Linked DNA regions of Homo sapiens: region 1 is linked to region 2. Evidence: promoter capture Hi-C in 16 types of primary human blood cells and fetal thymus (Javierre and others, 2016). All regions are on one chromosome and are shown on one strand. The core of a region is centred on a gene start or on the middle of the fragment in contact, and the rest is flanking DNA. Distances in the headings are between cores, read along the strand shown. Region 1 has its middle 52 kb from the start of LINC02000. Region 2 holds the start of C3orf36 (chromosome 3 putative open reading frame 36).

Region 1 (4,758 bases), core at 587-3,086, 180 kb after region 2:
GCACTAGGGTGTACCAGGTATTTTTCCAGTGGTTTTTCGGGGCTTTTTTTGTTGTAAGTGACAAAATAAAACAAACAATCAAACAAACAAAACCTGACTCACCTGGTATAAATAATCCAAGGAACTGTATTGGATAACAAATCAAAATGTCTAGAGGTAGGACTGGCCCTGGAATTAGGGAAGGACACCAGGACTGAGGGACAGAACACAGAACAGGGAATGGAGAGCTGCTGATGGACAGGAGAGCATACTGGAAATTTTTAGGAACATGCCCAGTGATGGAGACTGCCAGGCTACATAATGTGTGGAAGGTGAACTAGCCAAGGGTAAGGGGACAGACACCCAGGGCACCAGCTCCATGGCCTCAGCTACTCTGCCTTGCCTCCCCCAACTGCCCATGGGCACCTGGATCCAGCTCTGCTCCACTCCATATGTGCTGTTCCCTCAACCTAAAAGCCCTTCCTGTCCCATCCTCCTTTTCTCTGGCAACACTGTCTCACCTTTAAGGCCTCCCTCATGTTCTTCCCTGATCCCCCAGGGAGCACTTGGGGCTCAGTCAGCTGCCCACAACCATTCACACCTCCAGTATCATCTGCCCTGCAGGTCGAGGCTGTATCACACTGTGGATCATCAACAGTAAGCCTCCTTCACCACAGCTGGCTCTTCCAGTCAGTCAGCATGTTTAATTGACTCCTGAACCCCAAGGCTTGGTACACAAACAGGCACATGTCCATGCAGTAATGAGTGGACAAGGCAAGGATCCAATCATAACTCTAATTCCCTAATCAATAAAATGGACGCATTGATATTTTGCATGTCTATTTCTCAGGGTTCTTTCAATAAACAAAAGAGGTTGTATCTATGAAGGTACAGTGTAGATGGAAGGCATTTTTTGTAATGATTAGAATATAGGTGAGAGAGTTTAATAAAACTACCCCACATTGGTTTCTGGTCCAAGGCCCCAGTCTCATTTCTCCCCAGTCTCTACCTCTTCCTTTCCAGACTGACTCTGATTATCTAATGTGCAAATGTTCCAAAGATCAGAAGTGAAGGTGTTGGTTCTGTGGCACACAAGATCTTAAGCTATAAAAGGAAGTGGAGATAAAAAAGAAAGTACAAACTGTATTGTTTTGATCCTAATTATACAGACAATCGAATCCAAGCAGTAAGAGTATGATTAAACCCATAGTGTCACAGGGTCATCAGCTATCAAGAACTATCAGGATGGGAGATGGCATTTGTTGTGATGATTCTTTGCTGCCATGTTAGGAAAATTCTTGAAAGCTTTGCTGAGCCAAATCTCTATCCATCATCTCTCCTCCTTACCCTCGACTCCAAGGCTCACAAGGCAGCAGACATTGTTCTGGCCAGCAAATCTGGCTTAACTAAATGTGGCAGAGTCAAGTTAAGGGGTGTGTGTGTGTGTGTGTGTGTGTGTGTGTGTGTGTGTAACAGACACAGACATAAAGACAGAAACAGAGATTAAGGGGTGGAGATAAGAAATGGAAATAGATTCCCAAGATAGCTAGGTAGCAAGAAACATTTGAAGAGATAGCATGTATTTGGGAAAGACAACACACACACACACACACACACACACACACACACACACACACACACAGATGGAGAGAGAGAGAGAAAGAGAGCGCTTTACTATGTTGATATCCACAAGTCAAAGACCACCAGGAGCACAGGTTTCGTTGAACAAAATTATTGGTCTTTGTTGCAACAAGGGAGACCACATACCATGGGGAACTTTGGGGTGTTGCCCTTGTTGCAATAAGTACCAATAAACCAAACTTTGTTTGACGACAAGCCTATTTCTGTTGGTCTTTGGCTGGTAGGCATCAACAACTGTAATGAGATATTAATAATCATGATAAATGTAACTGGGATAAATTCACCTATTTTAAAAAGGCTATTGGGTTACATTTTTAAAATTAAAATTACATAGTTTTGAAAACATAGCCTGCTAAAACAATCAAGGATAGGTAAAGATATAACATGCAAACGCTAAGAGGAAGGCAAGTATAGCATTATTAGTATCAGTCAAAACAGTAAAAATCACAAACTGGGGCAGAGGAGGATATTTGATAAGAGGTATAATAAGAGGTACTTGATAAGAAGTACAATAAAAGGATTATACCCCTTATTAATAAGAAAACATGGCAGTCATAAACCTTTATGCACCAAACATGTTTTGCAATACGTGAAATAAAAACTGGCAGGTATAAAAGGCCAAATTTACATATCTATTATCATAGTGATAATAGATATGTCCCAAAAATCTGAGTCCCAAAAATATTCCTCAGTTTCTCTTAGAAACTGGTCAATCATGTGGTTGAAAATTATAAATAATAATATAGAGAATTTAAAAAGCAAAATTAAGAAGCTTAGTACAAAAGATAAAGTTAGAACTTTGTACTCAAAAAACAGAATACACATAGAACTTCCACAAAAGCTTACCAGGTAATAGGCCACAAAGGAAATCTCCAAAAGTTCTCAGAATAAGAAACACATATGCCATATTTGCTAACCATAATTCAGTATAATTAGAAAATAGTAATCACACAGACAAACACACACACACGCCTACTTGAAAATAATTCAATTTTCTTTTCTTTTCTTTTTTATTTTTATTTTTTAAGACTGTCTCGTTCTGTCACCCAGGCTGGAGTGCAGTGGCACAATCTCGGCTCACTGCAACCTCTGCCTCCCAGGTTCAAGGGATTCTCCTGCCTCAGCCTCCCAAGTAGCTGGGACTACAGGCACGTGGCACCACACCTGGATAATGTTTTGTATTTTTAGTAGAGACAGGGTTTCACCATGTTAGCCAGGATAGTCTCGATTTCCTGACCTCGTGATCTGCCTGCCTCCGCCTCCCAAAGTGCTGGGATGACAGGCATGAGACACCGCGCCCAGCCAAGAATTCAATTTCCTAAATTATTTGAGGTTTATAAGAACATTCAATCAAAGTCATACCTTAAACTATTTAGAAATGAGGAAAGTGACATCAGCAAGATGATAGGCTAGGAAGCTACAGACCCTCTTTCCCACACAGATATACTGAGTTATCAACAATATATGAAACAGAATACCTCTGTGAGAACTCCAGAGACCAACTGAAAAGCTACAGCACCCACGCCATTGTAAAACCAAAAAGGGATTCCAGTGAAAGCTGTAGGAAATTTGCAGTGTTTGGTGGGCTATTCATGCCCTTCCCCCTGCATAGCACAGAGCAAGCAGGAGGAATCCCCCTCAACTGTCACCATACAAGAGCTCCTCCCTTAGAATAAAAACAAAAGATCAGGGCTGGGTATGGTGGCTCAAGCCTGTAATCCCAGCACTTTGGGAGGCTGAGGCGGGCAGATCATTTGAGGTCAGGAGTTTGAGACCAGCCTGACCAACATGGTGAAACCCCATCTCTACTAAAAATACAAAAAAATTAGCCAGGTGTGGTGGCATACTCCTGTAGTCTCAGCTACTTGGGAGGCTGAGGCAGGAGAATCGCTTGAACAGAAGAGGCGGAGGCTGCAGTGAGCCGAGATCAAGCCACTGCACTCCAGCCTGGGTGACAGAGCGAGACTCCATCTGAAAAAAAAAAAAAAATAGATCAGAACATATGTCCAATATTATAGCTTTTCTGGGCCTGCCCAAGGGACTGGTTTCTGTCTCACCTGACTCAGAGTGCTGACAAACTGGAGCAAGATTTTGGAAACCACTGTAAACAGAGGCAAGCATCACATTAGAGCTATAGCTCTACAGGTAGATACCAGGAATAGCAAGAGATCAGAAATTATTTGAGAGGTCCAGCTGGGCTGAATGATGAAGACCTTCCTCTGCCTAATGCTGATACAAAGCCTGGAAGAGGTGTTTGTTTTTTTTAAATGCCCAAATCTCAGCAAAAAATTACAAGACACACAAAGAAACAGGGAAACATGGCCCAATCAAAGTAACAAAATAAACCTCCCCCAAAAAGCCTAAAGGAAAGCACATCTATGAGTTGCCTGACAAAGAATTTATAATGACTGTCATATACAGAACATTTACCCAACAAAAACAGAATATACATTATTCTCAAGTGTACATAGAACATTCTCCAACATAGATCACGTAATAGGCCACAAAACAAATCTTAACAAATTCAAGAAGGTTGAAATCACACAAGATATCTTTTTAAACACAACGGAATGAAACTAGAAGTCAATAGAACAAGGAAAACAGTAAGTCCACAAATGTGAAAATTCACACACTCTTAAACAACCAATGTGTCAAAGACAAGGTCAAAAGAGAAATTAGAAACTATTAAAAATAAGAACACAACATACCAACACTTATGGAATGCAGTGAAAGTGCTATGAGGGAATTTCATAGCTGTAAACATGTATATTAAAAAGAAGAAAGATCTCAATTCAGAAAGCCTAATTATATACCTTAAGAAACTAAAATGAAGAACACACTAAACCCAAAGCCAGCAAAGGAAGAAAATGAGTTGGTTTTTTGAAAGATCAACAAAATTGACAAAACTTAACTAGATTAAGAAAAAGAGAGAAGACTCAAATCACTAAAATCAGAAGTTAAAGGGAGACATTACAACCATTGCCACAGAAATAAAAAAAAAATTATTGGGAATATTATGAACAATTATACACTAAGAAATTGGATAACCTAGAAGAAATGGATAAATTCCTAGAAACACACAAACCACCAAGACAGAATCATAAAGAAACAAAATTTAATCAGACCAATAAAGAATAA
Region 2 (4,546 bases), core at 1,854-4,353:
GCCCCTGTCAACAAACTTACCCTATCCTTCCAGGCACAGTTAGAGCTCATCTCTGCTCCAGATCTCCAATCCCTAGGGAACGGGCCTCTTTCACCTTTGTTAATCCACCACATACACCGGCTTCCCCCTGCATTTCCATGCAGGCATCTGTCTGTCTGTTTGCACTTCTCCTTCATGGCACTATTGCACCTGTAATTGATCAGCCAATTGCAGCCACAGTTTGGATGCTTTCTTGGTTGTCTGTCTGCCTTCTGTTTGTCTTGTTCACCTCTATAGGCCTGGTGCCCGGCTTGCCCGGGTACCTGAGTCTGTGACGGGATGGGTACCTGCCCCTTTCCCGGGGTGGACAGTGCCTGGAATGCTGACAACAGTTTCTTTCCGACATGCAAGCCTATCTCGGGGCCAGGCCCCAGGAGGTGCTGTGGTGAAGGTTTTGGGAATTGGAAGGAGGAAGCAGAGGCTACCTAGCCCCCTGCAGTGGCTGAATAATGGTTCCCAGATGGTGCCAGTGACGCAGTGGGGAGGCTGACAGCTTCTGGGTGCGAATGGCCCCACAATGCGGCCGGGGACCACCCTGCTCACGGCCGGTCAGAGAGCCTGAGGAAGCCGTGTGTTCCCGCGGGCCCTCTCGGTGCCTCGTGGCACCTTACTCTCTACTCCTCTTGTTCTCTAACGTGTTTAATACACTTTCGTGCAGAAAACATAAATAGACTAAACGGTGCTTTATCGCGGGCAGTCAGAGAGGAAGTTTTCTCGAGGCTGTGTCCCGTGAGCAGGCGCCGGTGGGCTCAGCCGCCGGGCCCTCCGAGTAGGGGAAGGCGTGCGTGCGTGCGTGCGGTGGGCGCGGGGAGCCCCGCAGGCCCGAGGGCGCCCCGGCGGGGAAGCGGGCTATCGGAGGCGCGCTGAGCCGGGTGGTGGAGTCCCGCCCGGCTGGCTGTGGGGCCGCGGGGGCGTCCCGTGGGCGGGCTGGGCGTGGCGCCTCCGCGGGTGGCTTCCCCGGGCCGCGGCGGAGGGGCGGCGCCCCCTGGTGGCGGAATGCGACTCCAGGGCGCAAGGGGCCGCCCACCCCGCCTCGCCCACCCGGCGGGGGCCTCCGCGCCTTTTCTGAGAAAGCCAGAGGAAAGGAGCCGAGACCGCAGTCCCCTGGGCCCGTTTCCTCGTCTGTGGAATGGCATGATTATTGCATCTCACAGGGCTGTCGTGAAGATTCAAGGAGCAAATGTATGTAAAGCGCTTCGGATGTCTGGTACATTCTGAGCCTTCAACCCACCTGAGCTGTTGAAACTCTGGGATTCAAGCGATTCGGGTCAAAGAGGAACGGTGTGACACCTGCCTCTGTCCTTTCCAAGGTGGACTCAGGGATTGCATACGTCTCATCCAGAACCCCCAGTCTCTCTTTTGTAAGCTGGCGGTCATGAGATGTAATGAGGAAAAGGTTTAAACAAATGTTGGTCCCTATCTGGGACCTCTGAAGTCACTTTTAATGGATTTGGGGATTTTACAGATTTAAAAAGGGGTGCCTACTGTGGCCCATTTATAGACCTGTGGAGCGAAGAGAAGGAGATTAGTCACACTGGGGGCCGGAGTAGAAGCCGTTTTAAATTAGTTGCCCCGCTCTGCCTTGAGACTGAGACTTTCTGACTCTCAGTTTCACCCTTGGGTTCCAGCACCCAGATGAGAAGAGAGAGAAGGTGGAAGAGGAAGAGAGGGAGGGGATAGAGCAGCGGCCACCACCTCTCCCTGAGAGGGCGCAGAGTGGGTGGTTCCCCCCAGGTGAGCAAGGTGGGGGCCCCGTGGGTGTGCTGGGTAGGGGTGGAGTGTGCTGGGAGCACGCGGGAGGACTGCGCCTCTGCTCCTCGGGGTGTGGCGCGGCCCACTCAGGAGCCCCTTCCAGTGTAGACTCCAGGAGGGTACTCTGAGCTAGGAATGCCTTCCTGAGCGTGGTTGGTGGGGGCTCTAAGGCCATTCCTCCAGGCCCTGAGGGGGCAGAGAGACACGTGAGCACTAACCCAGGAGCCGGGACTAGGCTGAGCCCACTACTCACAGCCTGGGGTAAGCCAGCCTCAAGACCCTCCAGGATGGTCTCAGCCTGCATCCGACTGCCTCTCCTGCCTGACCACTGCGCTCCTTCACAGGCCTCTGGCCGGCGAGTTCTCAAGATGTGCAAAGGTTTCCTGCTTCCTTACCTTTGCACACCTTTGCTTATTCCTTTTGCCCAGAAAGTCTTTCCCAGCACATTTGACTCTCTTGAATTCCAGTCTCTCCCGCATGGCTAGGATCAAGCCCGTTCTCCCATCGCTCATCAAATGAACTCAGAGCATAGTACTTTGCCCTGTGTTAAGGTCTTGTCTTAGCTCTGGATTATATGTCCTTGAAGGGTAGGGACCATGTGTTTGTCACCACCTGTCCTTATACACATCAGGTAGTACATAAATCAAGGGAGGCGTGAGGGACAACTGGAAGGAGCCTCGTTTTCTCCATGTACAGGATGGGACTAGTCATAGTGGCCGCACAGGGCTGTGGGAACTCTGGTGCGATTCTGCCATGAGTCACCCCATCTCCTCCTTGCCTGCAGGGTCTCGCTCCATCAGCTGTCCTCTTGGACCCCGCAGCCTCCCCATCCTGTGGCCTTTTGCCCCAGCAAATCTCTCCTCTCTGAAGCCATCCTTTCCTTGACCCTGCATCTCTCTCAGCCACCACCCCATCTCTGCCTCCTCTGAGCAAAATCGTCTTTCCCACCTCCCCAGCCCTCTGCAGACTGCCTCGGCCTTGCCTGGGCATCATCCCCTCAGCTTCAGGGACCCACAATTGGTGCTTCCTCCATTGGGAAATCTTTCCAGACTGTGCTTCCCAACCCCGACAGCCCCGCAAAGCTGGTTTAAGTGTCCCGGTGAGCAACTGTGTCCACCTAGGTTCACTACCCACAGTAGAGGGTTTTAGTGCTCAACCATATCTGCTCTTTTCTTCTCCTGAGCACACAGAATATTCTGTTCCGCTCTTGCGGCAGCTAGGCTGGGAGCAGAGTGAAGAGCGTTACTTTGGGACAAAGCATTGCTTAGCAGTGCGGGATCTTCCAGGACTTTCTTCCCCTGCCCCATCCATCATGGCAGCTTATAATGAAATGGAGGTACCTCAGGTTCCAAACAGTCTGAGTTACTGAGACACTGGTTGGGGGGGCTCTCAGGCCAATCCTCCAGGCCCTGAGCAGGCAGAGGGGCACTACTGAGCCACTGACCTGAGAGTCACCCAGATCACCACAGGTTCTGTGAGCGAGATACCATCTTTTGTTGTGTCAAGTGACTAAGATTCGAGAGGTTTGTTACCACAGCATAGCCAAGCCTTTCCCCACTGATTTACTGATTAAAGAAGTGTTTTAAATGGGTTAATGGCTTGGTAAACTGTAAAGATCTGTGCACATTTTAGTTATTATTATTGCTGTCAAGTTGTAGCAGGGCTGGAGACATGATGTGGCTGGAGAGTGGAGGAATGGCCAGGGTATGCCATGGAGAAAAACTTCCTCTCATTTATGATTTGCCAAGGGCTTTTCCAGGATCTGTTTCCATATTTAATCTCTGATGAAAGGTTATAATGAATCTGGTGTCTGGTGCTACTGGCAGGAGATGGACCTTTCTTCCAGGTATTTACTTCCTGTGGTTGCGAAAGATAGGATGTATTTCTTCTGGATTTGCTGCAATATAATATTTTAGTATCAATTTGATACTGACTGGCTTCAGCCTCCAGCTTAACTGTATCTCTCCATCTTTGAGAGTGGTTGAATAAAATCACAATATGGCTTTGTTTCTTGAGCAAGAATCTGCTAAGCAGTCACCAGATGGAGCTGTTCCCTTGAAGGTCTGTGTGCAGGATTCTCAGGGCCTTTTCTTCTCAAAACCCTTCCCTCTTTGTCTCTTTTCTCCACAACTCTCTTTAACTCATGGTGCTATAGGGATAAATTGGCCCTGTTTAATGAATAGTTGTGATGTTGTTGCTAGTTGAATAGAAGGTAAGTAAATGAACTGTTACCTGGTTCTTTTGCCTTTGTTACCCACCTTAATGGCCCTCAAGAGATTCCCCCACTTCCCTCCCATGGGCCAGTGAACATCAGTGGGAAAAGAGGGGCCTCCCCACCATTTTAGTCCATGCTGACTCTTCAGAATGACTCAGCTGGGGCAATTGGGCTGGACCAGAGAGAAGTGGACAGCCTGGTTTGAGTCTAGACCTGGCCAGCTATTATCTATGTGAAATTGGCCACAATGGTTGCTTCCTCGGGATCAGATTCCTCACCTTTACATGGGGCATCCATCATGGAGGATCACCCCAAAGGGCTTTGGGCCAAAGGATAATTGATAGAGATACGGTATTTAGTTATCACTGTATTTGCGCTTTTTCCAAGAAGGGTAAAAGAAGGATTGAATAAAAAAGGTTCCTGCACACTCTTCCTTTTCCGGCTTTTTTGTTCAGCCCTTGAGGAGCGGGATTCTGTAGGGAGAGGGAGTGGTGCAGAGGAGTGGGCTTCCTAGGACTGGGGCCGGGAGAGGGCATAGCC

Evidence for each region. The method cuts DNA at HindIII sites, captures the fragments that hold promoters and counts their contacts. A CHiCAGO score of 5 or more calls a contact.
Region 1: a contact is called between a fragment that was not itself captured here and the fragment with the promoter of C3orf36 in region 2, in 1 of 17 cell types (endothelial precursors). The highest score is 5.7, in endothelial precursors.

What each region holds. Positions count from the first base shown.
Region 1 is chr3:134,106,941-134,111,698 of GRCh38, forward strand. No RefSeq gene overlaps it. Among named protein-coding and RNA genes, the nearest start is that of LINC02000, 52 kb to the left of the region's middle. The HindIII fragment of the contact is 1,108 bases long and covers 1,283-2,390 here.
Region 2 is chr3:133,926,709-133,931,254 of GRCh38, forward strand. C3orf36 (chromosome 3 putative open reading frame 36) reads right to left here and starts at 3,104. Exons shown (of 1, transcript NR_161373.1): 1 at 1,437-3,104. RefSeq lists a silencer at 733-1,262. The HindIII fragment of the contact is 5,965 bases long and covers 1-4,546 here.